Linked DNA regions of Homo sapiens: regions 2, 3, 4, 5, 6 and 7 are each linked to region 1. Evidence: promoter capture Hi-C in 16 types of primary human blood cells and fetal thymus (Javierre and others, 2016). All regions are on one chromosome and are shown on one strand. Each heading gives the region's core, a stretch centred on a gene start or on the middle of the fragment in contact. The rest is flanking DNA. Distances are from core to core; before and after follow the strand shown.

Evidence for each region. Contacts are between HindIII fragments. The CHiCAGO score rates a contact against its expected background, and 5 or more counts as called.
Region 2: a contact is called between a fragment that was not itself captured here and the fragment with the promoter of KLF14 in region 1, in 4 of 17 cell types (endothelial precursors, megakaryocytes, M2 macrophages and 1 more). The highest score is 11.5, in endothelial precursors.
Region 3: a contact is called between a fragment that was not itself captured here and the fragment with the promoter of KLF14 in region 1, in 1 of 17 cell types (M2 macrophages). The highest score is 7.3, in M2 macrophages.
Region 4: a contact is called between a fragment that was not itself captured here and the fragment with the promoter of KLF14 in region 1, in 16 of 17 cell types (megakaryocytes, naive B cells, total B cells and 13 more). The highest score is 34.9, in megakaryocytes.
Region 5: a fragment that was not itself captured here is called in contact with the fragment with the promoter of KLF14 in region 1 in 12 of 17 cell types (megakaryocytes, endothelial precursors, erythroblasts and 9 more); the score reaches 11.4 in megakaryocytes.
Region 6: a contact is called between a fragment that was not itself captured here and the fragment with the promoter of KLF14 in region 1, in 13 of 17 cell types (megakaryocytes, endothelial precursors, M1 macrophages and 10 more). The highest score is 13.7, in megakaryocytes.
Region 7: a contact is called between a fragment that was not itself captured here and the fragment with the promoter of KLF14 in region 1, in 4 of 17 cell types (megakaryocytes, erythroblasts, fetal thymus and 1 more). The highest score is 10.4, in megakaryocytes.

What each region holds. Positions count from the first base shown.
Region 1 is chr7:130,732,363-130,735,731 of GRCh38, forward strand. KLF14 (KLF transcription factor 14) reads right to left here and starts at 1,845. Exons shown (of 1, transcript NM_138693.4): 1 at 1-1,845. The coding sequence starts at 1,671. The coding sequence ends at 700. It overlaps LOC105375508 (a long non-coding RNA gene), which reads left to right and starts at 1,902. Exons shown (of 4, transcript XR_927978.3): 1 at 1,902-2,020. RefSeq lists an enhancer at 916-1,453 and silencers at 1,349-1,508, 1,579-1,658. The HindIII fragment of the contact is 4,510 bases long and covers 1-2,897 here.
Region 2 is chr7:130,026,792-130,030,160 of GRCh38, forward strand. It overlaps ZC3HC1 (zinc finger C3HC-type containing 1), which reads right to left. Exons shown (of 10, transcript NM_016478.5): 5 at 2,111-2,238. It also overlaps the pseudogene RNA5SP245. Among named protein-coding and RNA genes, the nearest start is that of ZC3HC1, 23 kb to the right of the region's middle. The HindIII fragment of the contact is 2,476 bases long and covers 651-3,126 here.
Region 3 is chr7:130,043,350-130,046,718 of GRCh38, forward strand. All of the region lies in intron 2 of ZC3HC1 (zinc finger C3HC-type containing 1), which reads right to left. Among named protein-coding and RNA genes, the nearest start is that of ZC3HC1, 6.3 kb to the right of the region's middle. The HindIII fragment of the contact is 8,261 bases long and covers 1-3,369 here.
Region 4 is chr7:130,071,066-130,074,434 of GRCh38, forward strand. All of the region lies in intron 1 of KLHDC10 (kelch domain containing 10), which reads left to right. Among named protein-coding and RNA genes, the nearest start is that of KLHDC10, 2.2 kb to the left of the region's middle. The HindIII fragment of the contact is 2,507 bases long and covers 626-3,132 here.
Region 5 is chr7:130,103,724-130,107,092 of GRCh38, forward strand. The region is part of intron 2 of KLHDC10 (kelch domain containing 10); the gene reads left to right. Among named protein-coding and RNA genes, the nearest start is that of KLHDC10, 35 kb to the left of the region's middle. The HindIII fragment of the contact is 1,716 bases long and covers 959-2,674 here.
Region 6 is chr7:130,120,758-130,124,126 of GRCh38, forward strand. It overlaps KLHDC10 (kelch domain containing 10), which reads left to right. Exons shown (of 10, transcript NM_014997.4): 4 at 1-146; 5 at 1,297-1,445. Among named protein-coding and RNA genes, the nearest start is that of LINC03008, 19 kb to the right of the region's middle. The HindIII fragment of the contact is 1,127 bases long and covers 1,092-2,218 here.
Region 7 is chr7:130,139,323-130,142,691 of GRCh38, forward strand. LINC03008 (long intergenic non-protein coding RNA 3008) reads left to right here and starts at 2,409. Exons shown (of 2, transcript NR_149034.1): 1 at 2,409-2,450; 2 at 2,937-3,296. RefSeq lists enhancers at 1,643-2,306, 1,719-1,798, 1,979-2,118, 2,307-2,970. The HindIII fragment of the contact is 784 bases long and covers 1,211-1,994 here.

The DNA of each region.
Region 1 (3,369 bases), core at 595-3,094:
GGGTTCCAAATCATGCAACAGGACCTGCAAACAGACTCACACCCCAGACATCAAGAAGTATCTCCCAGCCACACATCTACATGGAGCTTATGTGGCCTCTCCTAGCAGAGGTAGCTGGGGCAATTGGGGGATTGGAGGGCATAAGCCTCCCATCAACCTGGGATCCCTATTTAAAAGATGCTAAAAATAAATTAGTAAACATTGCTGTTTACAGAAATAGAAATCATTTCTGTTTCCAAAGGCCTCTCACCATCCCAGTCCTGGACATTTCCAAGACTGCCACCCCTGACACCCTCTCCAAGGTCCGCCCTGGTGGATGGGTGAGACACCAGAGTCCTTTGAGACTGGGAGCTCCTCAGGCATCTGAGAATTCCAGTTTCACATCCCTGGTTCCAGGGAGGGGAGAATCTTCAGTACTCTGGAGAGTACGGGAGTTCATCCCTTCTTATCAGTTCCTGGGGGCTGTCTTGAGGCAACCCCCACTTTTAGGATGATATACACGTTGCAAGAATTCCCGCTATTTTCCGGCCCCCAGTACCTCCCCAGAGTCCACATGTCTGCCTGGACCCACCCTCAGAGCAGAGGAACCAGTCTGTGCCTTGGTGTAATGACTCTGGGAAAGAAGGATGGGCAGAGAGAAAGCAGGGACAACGGCCTGGGGGATCATCCTTGAGGGTAAGACTGACAGCAATGACTGTCCTACAGGCAGGTGGTGAAGCTGGGCGCCGGGCCGGGACCGGAGCCGGAGGCGGAGCTTTCCACCTCGCTGGTGAGTGGCGGGTCGATGCGGGGAGTTCGACGACGTCCCCGGTACTCGATCATATCTGGATGATAGGTTGGGTGGCGGCGAGCATGCTTGGTCAGGTGGTCGCTCCGGGAGAACTGCTTGGGGCAGAGGGGGCAGGAGAAGCGCTTCTCGCCCGTGTGCGTCCTGTAGTGGCGGGCCAGCTCGTCGGAACGCGTAAACTTCTTGTCGCAGTCGAGCCAGTCGCAGGAGAAAGGGCGCTCACCCGTGTGGGTGCGCTGGTGGGACTTGAGGTGCGACGACTTGTAATAGGCTTTGGTGCAGCCCGGGAAGGGGCATTGGTGGCGCTTGGCAGCAGGTGTGACAGACCTCCTCCGGGGCGCCTGATCCGCGGCGGGGGCGGGGCCTGCCCCTAGGGCCCCTCCAGAGAACCCACCAGAGGCTGCTGGTGCGCCCGGGGCAGCAGGCGCGCTTGGGACGGCGGGCGCATCGGAGGAGCTCTCGGGAGCGCAGACCGCCGCGGCGCCGGAGGCGGGAGCCAGCTCGGAGCACGGGGTCTGGACGGAGCACGGGATCGGGTCGGAGAAGCCGGACGAGGCGCGTGGAGCTTCCCCCGAGTTCTCCCAGGAGCCCTCGCCAGAGCTGCCGCGCAAGTCCGCCCAGACGCTTGCAGCCAGCAGGTGGGGCGCGGCGCCGCCCGCGCCGGGGCTGGGGGCGGGGACCTGCGGGAGCTGGGGGACCGACGCGGGCCCCGGTGGCCCCGGACCCGGCAGAGCGGACTCCGGCGGCGCCGCACCCACCTCCGAGCCAGCGGCTCCACCCGCGCCCTCGGGGTCCGGCGGGCGGCGGTGAACCACGGCGCCCGCGGACATGGACACCAGGCACTCGGCGGCGAAGTAGTCCAGGCACGCCACGGCGGCCGACATGCTGGGACCGCCCGGCCGCCGGCGAGCGCCGTCCGAACGCGGCCGGCCGCGGGCGACGGAGTTCCCGGGAGCGTCCGTCCCGCAGCCTCGGAGCGAGAAGCAGGAGGCCGGGTGCTCGCCGCCTGCCGCCTGCTGCCGCCGCCGCCGCCGCAGCCGCCGCTGCCGCCGCCGCCCGCGCGGAGCCCGCCCCGCCTGACGCGCCCCTGACGCACCGGAGCCCGCGGGGGCGGCAGAGACCCGCCCCGGCCCGCAGGACACCCCCTCGGAACGCGCGGCCCCCGGCTAAGTCATGTTTAACAGCCTCAGAAATTATCTTGTCTCCGCGTTCTTTCTTCTGCCGGCGAGCCAGGTAATGGTAACAGAGCGAAACTCCCCAGTCGGAACTTCTGGGTTGCAGCAGCCTCGCCCCCCCTCCCCGCAGCCCGCCGCCCGCTGGTCCGTCGCCAGCTGGGTGTCCCGCGGAGTCCCAGAAAGTTTTTTTTTTTTTTAAGGAAAAAAATTGCTAATACCTGACATGTCTTTCGGTTCATAATTGCGATTGTTAGCGAAGTGGTCTCGAATTCCATTTCACTCCCCGTTCGCCGCTCTCAGACTAAATTGCAAATATCCCCAAGTCTGTAGCAAAAAAAGTTTTCTCATTGAGCAGGTCAACTGTGAACCCGGGGCCGGGAGCAGTTCCCTAAATAGATCCGCTACGTAGCCATTAATTAATAGCATCTCGAACCAGAAACAGTTTTAACCTTGGAAAAGCAAAGAATCCTCTCCCGGTTGAAATTGAAACTTAAAATCCTTTGAGTAACGATTTAACTATTCAGCCAACGAAAGAAAAATGCATGTTTAAACTGCATTAACCTGTCACTGGCATCCAAACAAATTTAAACGCTGAGATATAAATTATAGTCTAGCGGCGAGATAAACACATTAAAATGGACTCCCACCATTTTAATAATAGAAAGTCACGTTTCCAATTAGGCATTATCTTGTAATTTGCTTTTGACGAAAGTTAAATGTAAGGAAATGCAGCACATGATATAGAATGCTCATATGGTGTTTTGTGATTGTGGAGGTTTGCCTTTTTTATAATCAAATGCATGTACGGTTTCTTTTACGTGTCTTCATTGCTCTCATTTTTTCCCTCGTTTTTCTTTTTAAAAATGTAAAACTACATAGAAAAACAAACAGGATAATTTCTAAAAATAGTCATATCTTAGTTTTTGATGTATACAAGCTTTTATATGAGTGAATTGTGTGCATTTTATTTGTAGTTCTTCAGTACTTTTTCTTTTGAAAATTAATACGTATGTATCAAGAATAACATACGTTCATGTATTTACTGCCTAGGGTAATCAAATGTGAAATTTTTGTTATAGTTGTTTCATGTTTTTATTTATATTAAACATTACAGATAGAGTTGAATGTCACTTTGTTTCCCTCCCCAGTTCCATTCACCTTTCTCCCTCTTCACTTTTCTAGGTAATTAGTATTATAAAGTGGCTATTTAATCTGCATTTGTTTTGATACCCGTATTACCTAATTATACATGTAAATATATGTATATCTCCATGCTTATTTATTAAAATTTTTAAGTAAATGGTTCACTAGTATACATATCATTTTGCAACTTCTTTCCCTCAATATGATTTTGACAGCTATCCAGGTTGACACCTATAGAATCTACTTTATTCATTTCAGCAGTTT
Region 2 (3,369 bases), core at 639-3,138, 710 kb before region 1:
ACCCCGTCTCTACTAAAAATACAAAAAAATTGGCCGGGCGTGGTGGCGGGCACCTGTAGTCCCAGCTACCCTGGAGGCTGAGGCAGGAGAATAGCGTGAACCTGGGAGGCGGAGCTTGCAGTGAGCTGAGATTGCACCACTGCACTCCAGCCTGGGCGAATGAGCAAGACTCCGTATCAAAAAAAAAAAAAAAAAAAAATTAAAGAAAAAAAAATTTTAGAGATGGGGTCTCACTATGTTGGCCATGCTGGTCTTGAACTCCTGAGCTCAAGCAATCCTCCCACCTCAGCCTCCTGAGTAGCTGGGACTACAGGCATACATCACTGTGCCCCAGGCTCTAAATTTACTTTTTGACAGAACAACAAAGCTCGTTAGACTTTATTTTTGTTCTAAGAAAAATAAGGAACTATGACCAGGTGGAAAAAAAAAATTGCCTTGGCTAGGGACAGGGTTATATTCATAAGCATCAGAGGTTAATAGTTTCAGTCTATGGCCATACCACCCTGAACGCGTCCAGTCTCATCTCATCTCGGAAGCTAAGCAGGGTCAGGCCTGGTTAGTACTTGGAGGGGACTTTGGGAGGTTAACAGTTTGATGCTAAAACCCATACCACTCTCTTAATTTGAAGAGGCTACTATTTCCTACAGTAAAGCTTGTCTTCATGGAGTACCCATAGGGTGATTAAATGGAACAGTAAATATTCAGTTTCAAAGTACAGATTGACTAGAGCATTTATTTTATTTTTGAGATGGAGTTTCGCTCTTGTTGCCCAGGCTGGAGTGCAATGGTGCGATCTCGGCTCACTGCAACCTGTCTCCCAGGTTCAAGCAATTCTCCTGCCTCAGCCTCCCAGGTAGCTGGGACTACAGGCATAAACTACCATGTCCGGCTAATTTTTTGTATTTTTAATAGAGACGGGGTTTCACCATGTTGGCCAGGCTGGTCTCGAACTCCTGACCTCAGGTGATCTACCCACCTCAGCCTCCCAAAGTGCCGGGATTACAGGCATGAGCCACTGTGCCCGGGCTGACTACAGCATTTAAACATTTCTACTCACAAGGAGAAAGGAGTTTGTTACTTTCTTTGAAAAATGATGGCCGGGTGTGGTGGCTCACATCTGTAATCCCAGCACTTTGGGAGGCCGAGGTGGGCGGATCACGAGGTCAGGAGATCTAGAACATCCTGCCCAACACAGTGAAACCCTGTCTCTACTAAAATTACAAAAATTAGCTAGGCGTGGTCGCACGTGCCTGTAATCCCAGCTACTTGGGAGGCTGAGACAGAAGAATCGCTTGAACCCAGGAGGCGGAGGTTGCAGTGAGCCAAGATCACCACTGTACTACAGCCTGGCGACAGAACAAGACTCTGTCTCAAAAAAAAAAAAAAAAAAAAAAAAAAAAAAAAAAAAAGATATGCAATAAACCATATGCAGTCACATTTCAGTATTTTCTGTTAAATAGTTTAAGTAGGCTGGGTGTGCCGGCTCATGCCTGTAATCCCAGCACTTTGGGAGGCCGAGGCAGGTGGATCACCTGAGGTCAGGAGTTTGAGAACGGCCTGACCAATATGGTGAAACCCCGTCTCTACTAAAAATACAAAAATTAGCCAGGTGTGGTGGCAGACGCCTGTAATCCTAGCTACTCAGGAGGCTGAGGCAGGAGAATTGCGTGGACCTGGGAGGTGGAGGTTGCAGTGAGCCGAGATTACACTATTGCACTCCAGCCTGGGTGACAGAAAGAGACTCGGTCTCAAAATAATAATAATAATAATTTAAGTAATAAATCAAGATAAAACTGAATTTATGGGAAGCATATATTCAGGGCAAACTTGAATCTATGCTTCCAGGTTACAGCCCTAAAACTTGGCCCAAATAAACTGCTTATATACATATATGTTAAATTGAATCTATGCCATTTAAAAAAACATACCTAAACATTCAAATGGAACTCTCAACTGTCACCTTCCTGGTGGAGACTGAAAAGGTCAGATGAGAGACAGACAAGCAGTTCTCTTCACAGCAATTGCATCTTCTTGTCATTAAAAGAAATGCTTCAGGTATAAATGCTGGCAACAACTGGAGGCCATTGCAGCCTAGTCAGGAAAAACTCACCATAGTTTTCAAGTCCTCCGGCCTTAGGGAAGGAAGCTGGAGGTCCAAGTGACAAAGGCTTTGAAAACGATCTAGGAATTCACTAACAAGAATAGCAGGCTCATCCAGGGGCAACATCCCAAATCGGTCTGTGGAAAAAGTAAATTGGAAGATTATATTGGTGTAAACTGTAAAAAATAAAAAACACGGCTGGGCATGGTGGCTCATACCTGTAATCCCAGCACTTTGGAAGGCCGAGGCGGGCGGATCACCTGAGGTCAGGAGTTCAAGACCAACCTAGCCAACCTAGAAACCCCTGTCTCAGCCTCCTTTAATACAAAAAATTAGCCAGGCATGGTGGCGCGTGCCTGTAATCCCAGCTACTCGGGAGGCTAAGACAGGAGAATCACTTGAACCCAGGAGGCAGAGGTTGCAATGAGGCTGAGATCGTGCCACTGTGCTCCAGCCTGGGCAACAGAGAGAGACTCTGTCTCAAAAAATAATAATAAAATAAAATAAATAAAAAACACATATTGAATGATTGAGGAAATATAGTAAAATTGATGAGCTATTTGATGGTGTCAGGAAATTATTGTTTTTCATTTTGATGGGGCTGTAATGATACTACTGAGACCATGTTTAAAAAGTAGAATCCATATTTTTTATATTTTGAAATATTTAGATAAAATGGCATATGTGGGACTGAACTTCAAAACAATGCAGAGGGGCAGGGTGTTAGGTGTTAGGAATATAGAAGAAACAAGATCGGCCATGAGTTGATCATTGTTGAAGTTGAGTGATGGGGTTTCATTATTTATACTATTCCGTGTACTTCTATATATGTGTGAAATTGTTACCTTAAGAAAGAGAAAACAGAACAGAGTTAGTGGAGATGGATGCTTAAATAGGTGAAAAGTCTTAAAGAACCATCATTTTATAACTACCAAGTTATAACTTACTGTGAGCTAAGAATGAAAAAAATGGCATGTTCCTAAAGTCTACACAAGAGATACAAAAAGGCTTGCATTGTAAGGTGAAGCTTAACTGGGTACCAGAGTAAATAAAGTATACAATTAGGAATTCTACTGGTAATACCTAAGTTGGAAAAGAAGGAATCTGCCTGAAATCTAAGCAGTGTGGAAACTGATTATATACTATAGTATAATTATCTCTGGCATTACCCAATTCATCTACTGCATACTTGGTACACTGGTACAAAGGCAAATGATGAGTGCAGAAAGGCCTTGCTAAGCTACTTCCTAAAGAGGTCAGTCTAGTAG
Region 3 (3,369 bases), core at 525-3,024, 690 kb before region 1:
AGATGCAGGAAAGTTATACATTTTTATAAAGGGATATAGGAATTTGAAAGACATTCCAACATCAGCAAAGGAAGAATGAAGACTGGAAAACAAAATTCAGATACAAATATTAAAGGAGCCATGATTATCTAGAATAAAAGTAATGGTTAAATAAATAATCATCATATCCAAAATGTTGATCAATTTATAGCCAATGAACAAAAAGGAAATGGATCTAAATATTTTATCAAAATCAAGATTTAATGCAAGAAATAATGGTAGAAGGATGGTTAAAATACCTTCCCTTTCCTGAGCAATTCAGTCTTAAAGCCATTAGGCGGTGAACAAGGAAGATGTCAGAGCCAGGAGGCTGCGAAGAGGCAGCTCAGCCCAGGGTGTCAGAACCAAAGTGGTATGTAACAGGCATTCACTTGCGGGCAGCCAAGTGTGGAGTGCTAGGACCTAAATGGGGTGACGAGAGATTCATGCAAGAAAGGATGGCAGCATGGCAGAAATGGGAGATTAAGCACATATAGGGGATTGATCAAAGTAGTAAATATATTAAGGATAACAAATTATGTTTCACAGTGTTGAATATGGGAGGGAAAAATAGGGAAAAGGAGAAAACTAGAATGAATCCTGTGATGTACAATTGCAACTGGAGATGTCAGCAGGAACTCATCGTTTTTTAAAATATAGAGAGAAATGGATGTAAATTTAGATGTGTGTATACATGTGAATGTGTGTGTCTGTGTGTGTGTACATAAACATATATATTTTCTAGCTTTTTCCTCTGAGAGGGCCTGAGAACAGTGGCATCCCACTAGCTATGAGTTCTCCCTGCACCCAGATCTTGGCATTCATTCATGCATTTATATAGAGACAGGATCTTGCTATGTTGCCCAGGCTGGTCTCTCCTGGGCTCAGGCAATTCTCCCACCTGGGCCTCCCAAAGTGCTGGGATTACAGGTGTGCCACCATGCCCAGTTCAGATCTTAGCTTTTAAATAACATTCTCCACTGAAAAACAGCCAAGGATCCTTGTAAAATTGGCTGATTCCAGGGATGGGGCAAGAAAAATACAAGATAAGCCGAGAACAACTTGTTCCTGAAAGCAATAAAGAGGTCATGGGTTATGGGACATGTCAAAAGGCCACAGAAGCCAACCTGAGGGGGATGTCACTGACTAAATAAGGAACAACTGGAGTATCAAAATATATAATGATAGTAATGAATTATAACCCATTGAATAACAAAGAAAATATTGAGTCCATGTTACTACAAATAAATCAATTACATAAAGTTTGATAAGGACTGGGATATTTACAAAGTTTCAAAGAACTTCCCCACAAAGTACTTTTTATTTACAAAGGAGGAAAGAGTTATTTTACAATAGAAATGCCAGATACTCCCTTAATCAAGTGATCAAAGTGATCATCACCATAAAGGGATAAATAGAAATCACGTGTCACCTGACAGGATGCAATGAGAATGCAGCATTGCTTCACGACACTCCTGCATAACCTGAATCTAATCACAAAGAAACATCAAACAAATGTCATTGACATACACTCTACAACATAACTGTTCTGTAATCTTCAAAAGTATCAAGATCATGAAATTCAAGAAAAAACTGAGGAAATGTTCCAGATTAAAGGAGAATAAAGCAACATGACAACTAAATGTACTGTGTGATTCTCAACTGGATACTTCAACTATAAAGAATGTTATTAGTATAACTGATGGAAAAACTGGGGTCTGAGGATTGGAGGGTAGTAATTTATCAATGTCAATTTTCTGATTTTGATGGTTGCATTCTGGTTATGTAGGACAAAGTCCTTGTTTGTAGGAAATATTTGGGAGTAGTAAGACATCACTTTGGTGGCTTACTTTCAAATAGCTCAGGGAAAAAAGGTTCTTTGTAATCTCTGCAACCTTTCTGTAAGTCTGTAATTTAAAAATTTTTAAGAATCACTGTAAAAAATTACCATGTAAGTCTTTCTGTCCTTGCACACAGGGAATAAAGTAGTGAAAAGCAGAAGACGTGGTGTGGTACCACATTTCTTCCGCCTTCAGTCTCTGCTCCTTTCACAGAGCTACCCATCAGTACCATGTTGGCCATGTTGGAGTAGAGTATCCTCAGCTTCACAACCTCTATGGTCTATAGGAGACAAAATGACAGCCCAGAGAAGAATTTGCCATTTTCAGTGGAAAACAAGTGGCAATTACTAATTATGATGACTTGTACTTTGGATCTCATTTGCTGCACTTTCCTTTATAAGACATCAACTGGGCCAGGTGCAGTGGCTCACGCCTGTAATCCCAGCACTTTGGGAGGCTGAGGTGGGTGGATCACCTGATTTCAGGAGTTTGAGACCAGCCTGGCCAACATGGTGAAACTAAAAATACAAAAACTAGCCAGGAATGGTGGTGGGAGCCTGTAATCCCAGGTACTTGGGAGGCTGAGGCAGGAGAATCGCTTGAACCCGGGAGGCAGAGGTTGCAGTAAGCCAAGATCACACCAGTGCACTCCAGCCTGGGTGGCAGAGTAAGACTCCATCTCAAAAAAAAAAAAAAAAAAAAAAGACATCAACGGCTTAAGATGGATGTTTGAGCTCACAATCTCTTTGATACTATGCAGCCATAAAAGGAACGAGATCATGTCCTTTGCAGGGATGTGGATGAAGCTGGAAGCCACTATCCTCAGCAAACTAACACAGGAACAGAAAACCAAACACATGTTCTCACTTATAAGTGGGAGCTGAATGATGAGAACACATGGACACATGAGGGGAACGACATACACTGGGGCCTGTTGGAGGTGGGAGTTGGGGGAGGGAAAGCATCAGGAGGAATAGCTAACAGATGCTGGGCTTAATACCTAGGCAATGGATTGATCTGTGCAGTAAACCACCATGGCACACGTTTACCTATGTAACAAACCCGCACATCCTACACATGTACCCCGGAACTGAAGATAAAAGTTGAAGAAAAAAAGGCCAGGCATGGTGGCTCATGCCTGTAATCTTGGCACTTTGGGAGGCCAAGGCAGGAGGATTGCCTGAGCTCAAAAGTTTGAGACCAGCCTGGGCAACACAGTGAAACCCCATCTCTACTAAAATACAAAAAATTAGCCAGGCATGGTGGCGGGCGCCTGTAATCTCAGCTACTTGGGAGGCTGAGGCAGGAGAATTGCTTAAACCCAGGAGGTGGAGGTTACAGTGAGCCAAGATGGCACCACTGTACTCCAGCCTAGATGACAGAATGAGACTCCATCTCAAAAAAAAAAAAAAGTTGAAGGGAAAAAAGGAAACAAAACAATGGATCAAATTCTTGAAGTCAGGCATATAGCACACTAGGTATGTTTCTAAATAAACTTATGACATAACGT
Region 4 (3,369 bases), core at 629-3,128, 660 kb before region 1:
TCTCATTGACATTTCCAAATGTTTCGGTTACTCGATTCCCAATCTCTTCCCCTTCCGCAGTTTGATCTTGTAAATGAAAGACATTGGCGCCTAGCTGTGGGAAATTATTTCAAAAAGGGTGCCAAGTTAAGGAGAGAAGAAGGAAACGCATTCCAAGGAGTGATTTTGTAAAAACTACACGGGGCGTGTGTGTAAGAGGCATTCTGAAACGGAAGAAAGGGGTGGGGGAGTGTTGGCTGGGGAGTGTATGGGAAAGAGAACCTAGAGGATTAGGGAAAACTAGTTGGATTATTAATATTTTGGAATGTTCAGAGACAGGATAATGGTGTCTAGGTTTTAAGGGGAGAAAGTGAAGATCAAAAATATACTTAGTGACACAATTATGCTGTGTTTACAATATAAAAACAACTGAGAATTGGAAAAATGTACCCAATACAATTATTTGACATTTTGGTCTACAGTGCCCTAGCCTTGAGTTCAGATGCTTTTGAAAACAAAATAAAATCAAGTGGATATGTATGTGTAGACAATTTTAAAGAGGTATGTTTGTAATTGAATATTCAATCTAGTAGAAGGAAGGTAGGGAATTAAATAATGCAGAGAACGTCAAATATCCCACTGGGCAAGCTTATTTTTACTATGAAAAGAACTATCAGGAATGATGTGTTAATTATTCATCGTGTTTTTTGTGAATAATATTGATTATATTAGTGATATATTTGTTTAGCTGATGAGTTTTGAGAACATGATGAATTGGTTTTTATGAATTGTGCTTAAGACTGTACCTTATACTTCTAGTCAAAAATTATTATTTGATTAAATTGAAGATGACAAAGGGAATTTAGCACATTTAATGAGACAATTGCTTATGTTCGTGATGAGGTTGTTGATGTGTGCTAGAAATGTACATTACCCCATTTATATGCATTAAATCGAGGCATTTGTAAGTAGTCATATAATATACCAGAAGTTGGGTTTGAGACGTTAATATCAGACTGGGCATCCTAGAATTGCTAAATATACGATCTTTAACATGAAAAAGAAAAAAGGAGCAATCTTTTTTCTTACTCCCAATTAATAATAAAAACTTAGATTTTTGTGTATTGGCAGCTTAGAAGATGAATCTCTTAGCAAACACTGTCACCAGTTTGCCCTCTACTACCGCAATCTTTAGGTCTTTGATCACGGATTAATTATACCATGGGCTTCAAGTAGGCATTCCTAGGTTCCTAGAACCTGCTTGGTGCACTTCCTCACTTCAACCACGTGATGGCAGTGGAAGCCATGATTTCTGCTAAGGGGCTTCAGTGTAGAGCTATTTCTGCATTCCCTTAGCACACAAGACCAAGAACAGCCATTTATCCGGAGGTAAAGATAAACGTGTCTAAACTGTGAAAATTTGTAAAGCGGGGTCATCAGTCTCTTTTTTCTGCTTCCCTTTTCTCTTGACTGACACTTCATTGCTCCTTTACTCATTCTCAAAATTGGGACACATCTGATACCTCAATGTATTATGTAGTTTGAAATTCTTTCATACCAATTCTTTATTCTGCTAGGTATTGCATTTTAAGCCTCTCCCTTTTCTTGCATTTTGATAGATTTTAAAAGATTTTAGGTGATGGGGAGGAATAGGATGTCTAGGCTTGGTTGACGGGCCTTGGAGATAAAACCTTTTATTTTAAATTTATTTATTTATTTATTTATTTATTGAGATGGAGTCTCACTCTGTCCTCCAGGCTGGAGTGCAGTGTCGCGATCTCGGCTCACTGCAACTCCACTTCCTAGGCTCAAGCAATTCTCCTGCCTCAGCCTCCTGAGTAGCTGAAATTACAGGCGCCCACCACCACGCCAGGCTAGTTTTTGTATTTTTAGTAGAGACGGGATTTTATCATGTTGGCCAGGCTGGTCTTGAACTCCTGACCTCAGGTGATTTGCCTGTCTCAGCCTCCCAAAGTGCTGGGATTACAGGCGTGAGCCACCTCGCCCAGCCAAATTTTTTATTTTTTTGAGTGTACTATAGCGGCTGGTCGTGGTGGCTCACATCTGTAACCCCAGCACTTTGAAAGTCCAAGGTGGGAGGATCACTTGAGCCTAGGAGTTCAAGGCCAGCCTGGGCAACAAAGCAAGACCACATCTCAAGTTAAAAATTAAAAAACAACAACAACAACAACAAAAAACTATAGTATAGCTCACTGTCTCTCTCTTTTGACCTCTAAATCCTATTTGTCTTTTTTTTTTTTTTTTTTTTGAGACAGAGCCTCACTCTGTGGCCCAGGCTGGAGTGCAGTGGCACAGTCTTGGCTTACTGTAACCTTTGCCTCCCGAACTCTAGCAATTCTCCTGTCTCAGTCTGCCAAGTAGCTGGATTAGAGGTGCGGGCCACCACGTCCGGCTAATTTTTTGTATTTTTGGTAGAGATGGGTTTTTGCCATGTTGGCCAGGCTGGGCTCGAACTCCTGGCCTCAAGTGATCCTTCCGCCTCAGCCTCCCGAAGTGCTGGGATTACAGGCGTGAGTCACAGCGCCCAGCCAGCCCCATGTTCCATTTTTCATCCTTCTCTACCAAGACTTCCAGTTACTGATACTTAGAACCTTTTCTTACTTTTTACATCTCAACCCTCCATCCAGCCCCCAATGAAACCAAACAAAACAACCTGGTCTTCCTGGAGTGTTCTCATTCTCTTTCAGTGATAGCTTCTTTATCCATCCAGTTATGCAAACTTGAAACTTGGTCATCCTCCTCAATATTTTCTTCTCCGTTGCACTTCAGGTGTAATCATTTACCAAGTCCGTTTCTTTTACTCCTGCCATAACTCCAATCCACGGTGCCACCATCCCTCACTTAGGTCTCCTGCAGGAGCTTTTTAAGCAGTATTCGTGCTTCTACTCTTGCCCTTCAATTCATATAGCACACCAGTCTTTTTGCAAGCCCAAATACATTCTCATCCCTGCTCACAACCTTTTTATTGCTCTTAGGATAAGGCAAAAATCTTTAACATGGCCTCAAAGGCACTGTGTCGTCTGACTCCTCTCTAACTCTACAGTTAATCCTGTGTTACGTTCTCTTGGTCATTGATCTTTTTCTGCCCCCTTGGATGTATCATGCTTCCTCCTGCCCCAGGTCCATTGCACAAGCTTTTCCGTCATCCAAGAACCTTCTTACTCCTCATTCCATTCTCTTGTTTTAACTTCTCTTCCATTAGATCTCAGTTTGATCAAAATGTTTTTTTACATGGAAGCCTTCCGTGACTTTCTGACTTGGTCTCTTCTCTCTGTAACACTCATAGCATCATGTGGCTCTCCTTGGGCATACTTTACCATTTGTGTGTGATTCCTTGATATGCATGATTTGATACTCTTGAGATGTATG
Region 5 (3,369 bases), core at 567-3,066, 630 kb before region 1:
CAAAATAAGATTTCTGAAAGTTTGTGACATACCCCATTTTGATAAAATTACTTGAAGATGTACTCTGGTAAAATGAAAAATCCAGGCCAGGAGTGGTAGCTTACACCTGTAATCCCAGCACTTTGGGAGGCTGAGGCGGGTGGATCACGAGGTCAGGAGTTTGAGACCAGTCTGGCCAACATGATGAAATCCCCCCTCTACTAAAAATACAAAAATTAGCCGGGCATGGTGGTGGGTGTCTGTAATCCCAGCTACTCAGGAGGCGGAGGCAGGAGAATCGCTTAAACCCAGGAGGCGGAGGTTGCAGTGAGCCAAGATCGTGCTACTGCACTCCAGCCTGGGCAACAGAGCAAGACTCCATCTCAAAAAAAAAATTATAAGAAAAATAAAATACACTTACCATTCATTAAGTGGAAGTGGATCATCATAAAGGTCTTCATCCTTACTGTCTTTACATTGAGAAAGCTGAGGAGGAAGAGGAAAAGGAGGAGTTGGGCTTGCTGTCTCAGGAGTGGCAGAGGCAGAGGAAAATCTGCATATAAATAGACTTGTGCAGTTCAAATTCATTTTGTTCAAGGGTCAACTGTATAACATTCTGTAACTAAAATTAAATTGAGAGTTGTACTAAAGGTCCTAGAATTTTTTGTTTTAAAATTTACAGGTGTAGTATTATCTACTTACTAAAAGAAAAATTCAAATAATACAGAAATACATAGGGGGAAAAGTCAGGATCCTTACTGCAAGCATATATAACATTTCTACAAATCAATTTCAAAAAAGACAGTTCAATGAGAGAATGTATGTAAGAGGCTTAAGCAGGTGTTCTTAATCTGTTCTTGCACTGGTATAAATAAATACCTGAGACTGGGTACTTTATAAAGAAGAGGTTTAATTGACTCACGGTTCTGCAGGCTGTATAGGAAGCATGGTAGCATCTGCTTCTGGAGAGGCCTCAGAAAGCTTTTACTCATGGCAAGAGGCAGAGTGGGAGCAGGTGTCTTACATGGCAGGAGCAGGACCAAGAGGAGTTGAGGGGAGGTGCTATGCACTTTTAAACAACCAGATCTTGTGAGAACTCATCACTATACAGTACCAAGGAGGTATGGTGCTAAAGCATTCATGAGAACTTCGTCCCCGTGATCCAGTCACCTCCCACCATGCCCCATCTCCAACACTGGGGATTACAATTGAACATGAGATTTGGGCGGGGACACAGATCCAAACCATATCAGCAGGCATTTCCCAAAAGAAAAATTCAAATGGCCAATAAACATGAAAAGGCGCTCACCCTCATTGCAATGAGAGAAATGAATAGTAAAACCACGAGAGCTCTACAAACTCACAGGAATTGCTACATTAAAAAGACTGACAGTGGCAATACCAAGTATTGGCAAGGATATGGAACAACAGGAATTCTCACATGCTGCCCTTGGATATGTAAAGTGGTACAACCATTTTGAAAACATTTTGGCTTTACCAAACGAAGGTGAAGATTTACATACATTAAGATTCAGAAATTCCATGTTTACATTTATAGCCAACAGAAATGTGAGCCCCTGTGCACTTGCAACATGTGCAAAAATGTTTGTAGCAACATTAAGAACCACAAATTTGAAACAACCCAAAATGCCTCTTCACGCAACTTAGACTGGATAAATAAATTGTGACATATATTCATACAAATAAATAATATTTGGCAAGGGAAATGAACAGACCACTTCTTTTCCCCTAGAACAGGGATGAATCTCAAAAACATAATTGTGAATAAAAGAGCCCAGAAAGAAAATATACTATATTATTCTACATATATTATTCTATTCAAATACACTTTAAAACTAGGCCAAAATAAACAGTATTGTTTAGAGATGCATACCTAGGTATAATAAAGCTATAAAAAGACAACAGATTTTTATGATTGCCCTAAAAATCAGGAAGTAGGATACTCTAGAAGTGAAGGGAGGTTGGAGGGTGTGATCAAGATGGGCAGTCAAAGGGTTTCTGGGTGCTGGCTGTATTCTGTTTCTTGACCTGGGTGATGGTTATATGTTCCTATTTTAATAATTTATTAAGCACTTTATGCAGTATTGTGTTTCTTGAGCTGGATGGTGGTTACGTGTTCTCTTTTTAATAATTTGTACATTTAAGGCCGGGCGCGGTGGCTCACGCCTGTAATCCCAGCACTTTGGGAAGCCAAGGTGGGTGGATCACCTGAGTTCAGGAGTTTGAGAGTAGCCTGACCAACATGGTGAAATCCTACCTCTACTAAAAATACAAAATTAGCTGGGCATGGTGGTGCATGCCTGTAATCCTGGCTACTCGGGAGACTGAGACAGGAGAATCGCTTGAACCTGGGAGGCGGAGGCAGTGAGCCAAGATCACGCCGTTGCACTCCAGCCTGGGCAACAAGAGCAAAACTCCGTCTCAAAATAAATAAATAAAATAAATAATAATCTGTACATTTATATTTATGTAAATTCTAATGCATGCCATATTTAACAATAAAAGGAGTTAAATTTAAAAAGCAAAGATCCTGCCTCACATCTTCACTCAACCACCATTAACAGGCGAGTCTTTCCAGATGTGGTTCTTTCTGAAGAGTGTTAAAAAATAAAAGTTTGTTTTTCAGCAAGTGTTAGGGGTAATAAGATACAGATCTTTGTAGGGGAAAAAAGAAAGCTTATTTCAATAAAATCAGAAAAGTGGGAAAATAAAGCGAGAAAGAGCGGTAAATAAAAAATACATAAGATTGCAGGGACAAATCTAAATAAGAAATCAAGATCAAATGGACCTTATCTGTGGAATGTATTTAGTTTACTATTTTAATAGGCTTAAAGAAAAATTGTGACTTTGCTGTATTAAATAAAACATTTAATAAAATTTGATATTTAATGTGTTCATTTTGTTACAATGCATCCAGTACCCTTATGACATATATGCTTTTCTGTATGTTACATTTGAATACAAACTTTGTGTTGGGCGCACAGTGGCTCATGCCTGTAATCCCAGCGCTTTGGGAGGCTGAGGTGGGAGGATCTCTTGAGCCCAAGAGTTGGAGACCAGCCTGGGCAACACTCTGTCTCTAAGAAAAAATTCAAAAATTAGCCGGGCGTGGTGGCACACACCTGTGGTCCCAGCTACTTGGGAGGCTGAGATGAGAGGATTGCTTGAACCTGGGAGGTCAAGGCTGCAGTGAGCAGTGATTACACTGCTACGTTCCAGCCTGGGCAATAGAGCAAGACCCTGTCTCAAAAATAAATAAACAAATAAACCCCACATCCATTCCTGGTAAGGGAAAACATTCTTACGCATCCAGGGATAAAAGAAGATTTATTTTATGACAGAATACTATAAGAAACCAGTAGTAAATAT
Region 6 (3,369 bases), core at 405-2,904, 610 kb before region 1:
ATGGAAACAACCTGTTAGTATTTGGAGGTACGGGCATCCCATTTGGAGAGAGCAACGGCAATGACGTCCATGTGTGTAATGTGAAGTATAAGAGATGGGCTTTGCTCAGCTGTCGGGGGAAGAAACCCAGTCGTATATATGGACAGGTACCAATCTGTGGCCAGTCATGGTGTATTTGTTCATATTTTTCTAGTCTGGGGATGGTGTTAGAATATTTGTAATTGTTACCATTTTATTTTAATGGAGAAGAGTTCTTTGTGGTTAGTACTTGATTTTTTAGTTCTGATATGAAATTATAATTTGCAAATCTGGTTACTTGCTGTGTTCTTTTCTTTTCTCTTCCTTTCTTTTCTTTTTTTTTCACTTTCTGTTTCTAATTCAATTTAGGTCAGGATGTAGACCTGTATGGAAGTTCCTTTAAATGTTAGAACCCCACCTCCACCTCTACCCTCACCCCCCGTGAGAGATTGGGCTTCACTATGGTCTGGGTCCTGGTCATTTTTAGAGTGATTCTTGAGTAGATGAGAAAGCACTTGGTGAAGAAACTTTTACATGGATCTGAGCTAAAACATACATTATGTAGAGATTAGTTTAGGTTCCAGCGCTTCAAACCTTAGGTCTGAAAAGTTATATCCAGAAAGATAGGGAGCAACCCACCATACATCAGAGACTCTTTGAGAGTTTAAGCTTAAAACAACCAAGCTTTGACTTCTTTCTTGACTCGCTGGCATTAGTACTGATAAACAGCTTCTGAGCTTAACTTCAAAGGAGCACATACTGGATAACTTTGTTGCTTCCACAGGAGGCATTTAAACTTAAGAAGTGGCCATAACAATAGCTGAAACTTTCATTGAAAAGGGTCCAGTGGAAAACATCAGGTTCCTTGAACTGCTAACTAGGGTTTCTACTTAGCAGATTGTGGTGGCTTATTTTCATATCTGCTGCTTCTTGAGAGCATTTTTCTTCAGACTGCTTATAAAGAGAAGCAGCTTTCAATGGAAATGCTTATGCCCATGGGCTAGAAATTATTTGATCAGCCAGGACCCTTAAGAATCATCTTGGGAGGTAGGACTTCCTTTCCAGTTGAGTAAAGCTTCACCTTTCTAAAGGTGTTTTCCAGGTTCTTAAAATAATCTCTGGGTTCTCTAAAATCTTTATTCTTTTAAGAGTCTGATACATTAAAAGATTAAAATACAAGAGAATTTCATAAAACCTGATTTGGAGGTATCTGGTAAGTTTACATTCTTTAATCAAGTGTTAACAAGTCGGTCTTATTCACCTTTCCTTGTTATCCAGGCTATGGCCATCATCAATGGCTCCCTTTATGTCTTTGGAGGTACAACCGGCTATATTTACAGCACAGACCTGCACAAGTTAGATCTCAATACCAGAGAGTGGACACAACTGAAACCAAACAACCTATCCTGTGATCTACCAGAAGAGAGGTGAGGTTCTAGGATTCAAGCATATTTATTCTTTCGTGCTAACATTTGACCTCTTTCAGAGTGTTGGCAATATGAAGAAAACCCTTTGGCCCCAGTTAGAATAACTAACTGGCTGTTGGATGTTAGATCTCAGGTAAATAGTAAAGAAAGGTCTATAGTAAAAAAAGTTCTTCTGGTGAGGAAATAATATTTCCTTCTAAACTACAGAATTTTTTTCCATGTCATTTCCTCTTATACTTTAGTCTCTCTGCATTAGGAAGATAGTAACACTTTGAAGAAGAAACCAGTGGTAACAACTATAACCAAATTTCATATTACAGGCAAAACAGTTACCGTCCAGTTACTTTTTGATTTCCCTTTTTTTAAAGAAAGGGTCTCACTCTGTCACCTAGGCTGGAGTACAGTGACATAATCATGGCTCACTGCAATCTTGACCTCCTGGGCTCAAGGCATTCTCCCATCTCAGCCCTCCGCCCAAGTAGCTGGGAATACAGGCATGTGCCACCACGTCTGGCTAAATTTTTGTACAGATGAGGCCGCACCGTGTTGCCCAGGCTGCTTCTCAAACTCCTAGGCTCAAGTGATCTGCCTGCCCTTGGCTTCCCAGAGTGTTGGGATTACAGGTGTGAGCCACCAAGCTGAGCCTGATTTCCCTTCTTAACTTGCATATTAGAATTCTTTGGCTCATTCTCTCACAGACATATCTTCAATACAGGGCACAGGGCCATCCCCACAGTGATGCCCAGTGAATGTTGATTGGATAGATGGAAGGAAGCTTGCATGGATGGATGGGTGATGAATGATAGATGGATGTATGGATGGATGGATGGATGGATGGATGGATGGATGGATGGAAAGGTCATTCATTTTAAGTGCTGTGTTAAACACTCAAACATCGCATGGTTCTCTCTAGTTGCCTTCTAGTAGCAGATCTATATCTTTCACTTTTCTTTCCTAATAGCAGTTGCCTCTTCATAGAATTAAACTCACTGTGGCTGGGCGCAGCCTGTAACCCCAGCACTTTGGGAGGCTGAGGCAGGCGGATCACGAGGTCAGGAGTTCGAGACCAGCCTGGCCAACATGGTGAAACCCTGTCTCTGCTAAAAATACAAAAAAAGTTAGCTGGGTGTGGTGGTGGGCACCTGTAATCCCAGCTACTCGGGAGGCTGAGGCAGGAGAATTGCTTGAACCCGGGAGGCAGAGGTTGCAGTGAGCTGAGATCACGCCATTGCGCTCCAGCCTGGGCGACAGAGCAAGACTCCGTCTCAGAAAAAAAAAAAAAAAGAATTAAACTCACTGAAATACTTGAAGAGATTTTTTTTCCCCTCCAGTTTGAAAGCAAAGACAGTAAACCATTTTTTATTAACTCTATTTAGATGAATCCAGTGCCTCTTTGTTGCCTCTTTAAACAAAATAGCATATAGGTGCTAAGGAAGAATTTATCTTAATTGTAGACTGTTAGTGGACTGATCATTGTAAAACTACCATAAGAGGACTTGGAAGTTGGCCTCTTACTGGAATGATTTTGATGTAGTTTATTTTATCAGCAACAAGGCCTTCAGGTAAAGAAGGAAATAGATTAAGTTTTCAAAGCATTTTCACATGGTTGCTTTCTTTAAGTCATTTTATGGACATATCATAAATTATTTTAGCTTTTAGCTAGACTGCCTGGATGAAAGTTCTGAGGTGTTTTATGTTATATCCACAGTTCTGTGTAGTATAATTTTCTGCTAAATAAGTATCTTAATTTGCAAACTCATAGTCTAAGGTCTCTAAATGTAGGCAGATCACTTTTTAAAACTATGTAATAATTTCCCCTTTATACAAAGTTATCACAAAAGATTATAGAAAAATCTACAAAATACAAATTAGCAAAATGAAGAAAATAAAAATCCAAGTCTAAACTCAAAGATAACCAGGTTTA
Region 7 (3,369 bases), core at 353-2,852, 590 kb before region 1:
TGTTTTATTTGAGACAGGCTGTGCTGCCCAGGCTGAAGTGCAGTGGCTCGATCACAGTTCCCGGACTCAAGTGATCCTCTTCCCTCAGCCTCTCAAGTAGCTTGGACCACAGGCATGTACCACCACACCTGGCTTAGCTGTGATTTTATCCTGTTGCCCAAAGCCTATTCCTTACCATCCTGTCCATTCATAAAATCAAGCAAGAACATTATTGTAGAGCAGAGGTTTTTTCTTTCATCCACAGCCAGGTGAGAGGAGGTAGTTTTGAGTGACATACAAAGCCAACCCAGCCAATCTGCTCACCCTACACTGGCCTTGCAGCCTCAAATGCAAAAGCAAGAGGCTTCTCAGATTCTCCAGCAGACAGCTCAGCAGGGGAGCTCAGCAGCCCATGCAGGAAGGTAGGTGCCAAACACCACTCAGGGAGGTCAGGAGCCACCACAGCCCAGCTCCAGGACTTGGGAAGAGAAGGCAGAGACAGCTGGGAGCTCTGGCCACTTACTATTTGGGGGCCCCACAGCAGGCCAGGAGCTTTAGAGTATTGCAGATGACATCCATGAAAAGAGAAAGCAGCTGCCATGCAGCCTGTGTCACCTTAGAGGAGTCAGACTGGTCAGTTTATCCTCCTTGAACCTGCCACTTAGAACCGCAAGGTTCTGGGAGTGGAGGAGGCTCTCACCATGACTGCCTAGGATGTGTTCAAAATCCCCACCCCACTGTCAGGGAGCAAACTTTGTTACTCTCCCAGCCCCAGAAAAATACATCCAGGCCATCCAGGCATCTCCTGCACCTGGGTTATTTACTACCCAAACCTCACCCTGAAACAGCTAAGATCAGGTCATGGTTCGGGATGTCGGCCTCTGCCTGGGCTCACCCTGCACTGCACAGGCTTGCTGCCCACAAAGACGCGGTTTATAAGAACAATAGGCACAGGGGTGTCTCAGAGCTACTTGCATACTAGGGCATCCAGGACGAGAACTCCAGCTTTACACTGGATCTAACCCCGGACCCCAAACACACACACTAACCCAGAGCCCAGCCTCTGCAGCCCCTGCCATGTCAGCCAAGCATTTTCAGTTCATTTTCTCCTCGGCAAGCCTGTATTGAATCGCAGGCCTAGAAGTTTTATCCCCGTTTCACAGATTGGCAGGCCAAGACAAGACAAATTCAGTGATTTGCCAAGGGCCAGAGAAGGGAGTCCAAGTCTGCAAGCTTGCAAGGTCGCGTTCATGAGAACTTTCATCCTCCTGGGACCCGGCGGCAGGCACATGGGCCTGGATAGTTACTGAGAAAATTCTTTCAGAAGGGCTTTCGGGGACGTGAAGTCACCCCTGGCTTCCCGGGATTCTGGGTTGGGAGCAGCCGCGCAGGGGCGGTGAAGCCAGGGGCCAGGGCGGTCCGTGCTGCGGGCGGCTCCCCAAGGCCCGGTGCGCTGGGCTACCCGCCCGCTGGCCATGGACTTGCCGCCTGCAGCGCACATGGCTGGGGAGGAAGAGCCGTGGATTTCAGTCTGTACACCCAGACGACTAAGAAGCTGCCGCCCGCTAGCGGGGAGGGGACTCGGCCGGGAGGTGGCCCCCGCAGCCCGGCGCCGCCGCGCGTCCCATCCTCGAGGCCACCGTCGCTCACCGAACATCTGGCACGTGCCATTGGTGCTGGGGTGCTGCGTGAGCGGGCCCTGCCTTCGGGAAGTTTCCATTGGGGAGGAGGCGATCGATCAGACCACAGCAAACGAGCAAGATGACCACAGTGGCCCATGGAGGGGGAATAGGAGCTGTGTGGCGTAGAAACAAGGAAAGCCTCCCGCCCGGTGTGCACGGGGAGCTAGAAAGTGTGACCAGAGTGTTCGGGGCAGGGACAAAACCCAGCTTCTGGTGTCTTCTGCAAGGGGAAGAAGCCTTGCGGTGGGAGCCAGGGGAATCCCCGCGAAGAGGCGGCCCCGCACCTATCCCGGGGCTGGGACGAAGGGTTTGGCTTCTCTAAACGCAGCGGGAAGCTTTAAGCCAGAGCCACACAGAGCATCCCTGTCGCAGGAGAGTGCCCGGGGGTCCCAGGAGGGCGAAAGCACCTTTGGGGCCGAGACACTTCTGCTCCCATCACCCCCGCCCCAGCAGGGCGCCCCTGTGCGGGGAACAGCCAGCAATCAGGGACAGCGCCCCAGGCCCCGCTGCGCCAGCACTGGCAGGAGGGACGCATGGAGGCCGGACGGAACTGGGGAGGGGGTGCTGGCCAGGGTGGGCTCAGGCCCTCCCCACTAAGGCCAGCTCGGCCCAGGGCCTCCCTGCGCAGCCCAGCGCGCCTTGTCGGAGAGGCTCCTAGGACCGGAGGGGAAGCCGCTCTGAACCGGAATGATCTGGTTTGGAGCGGGTTGGCTCCCTCCCTGCTCCCCCGCCCACTGCTCTCCCTCTCCTCCAGCGACGGGCTGGTTTTTGCCGCAGTCCCTGACCAAGGTAAACAGGAGGGAAGAGGAAAGAAGGCTGTTTCCATGGCAACCCAGGGGATAGGCGCTGTGGCTCTCCGGGATATGCGGGGGTGACTTCAGGGAGAAGAAAAGGCTCCCCGGAAAAGCCACAGGGAGGAAGGACCCTCCCATGCACACGGTGGGGTGCGTTCAGAAGTGGGGGGATGGAGGGAAAAGGAGAGGGGTCAGGCACCCTCGGTGAAGTGGAGAATTGAGCAGGGGCCTGGGGACACAGAGACACATAAGGGCCAGGGGTCATACCGAAAATGCAAGCACACAGGCTCTTCTGGCCACTCAACCCAGGGAGCAGAAAACAGAGGTGCCAGAGCTCTCAGAGATTCCGAAATCCACACCTCTCTGGTCCTTTCCAGAAAACCCTTCCAGGGGGCAGCTCAGCCTGGGGACAACCACAGAAGTGGGACCTGGGCCCAAAGACAGGTGTCACCTGAAACAGGCCACTGTTGTCCGCCTGCAGTATGCTGGGAGGACCAGCTCCCGCTCCACCCTGCTCCCCCTGGGAGGAAGGCTGACCCCTGCGTGGGAGTGTGACTGCTGGAAAGGCATCCTTGCTGCAGCTGTGAGTGTGATGGGACAGCAGAGTCACTCCTGCATGGGATTCTAGGGCTGGGGGTCCCAGAGGGGTGGCCTCCGCCCCTCCTGGGGGCCGAGGACTGTCACCATGTCACTACGGCACTCTCCAGCTGCTGACCAAAGCCCTCGCTAACCGCAGCCCTGCCATACTCTGGGTCTTTCCTCTGGAGCAAGGTGAAGAGACTGCAGCGAGGCGTGGAATTGGGAAGCTCTTCTGGTTTTATTAAAAACTCGTTCCACCACAGGAGTCAGCCTGGCCACTCAGGTGTGGGGCGGGTCTCTCCTCATTTAGCTTTCACCTGCGTGCCCAGGGATAG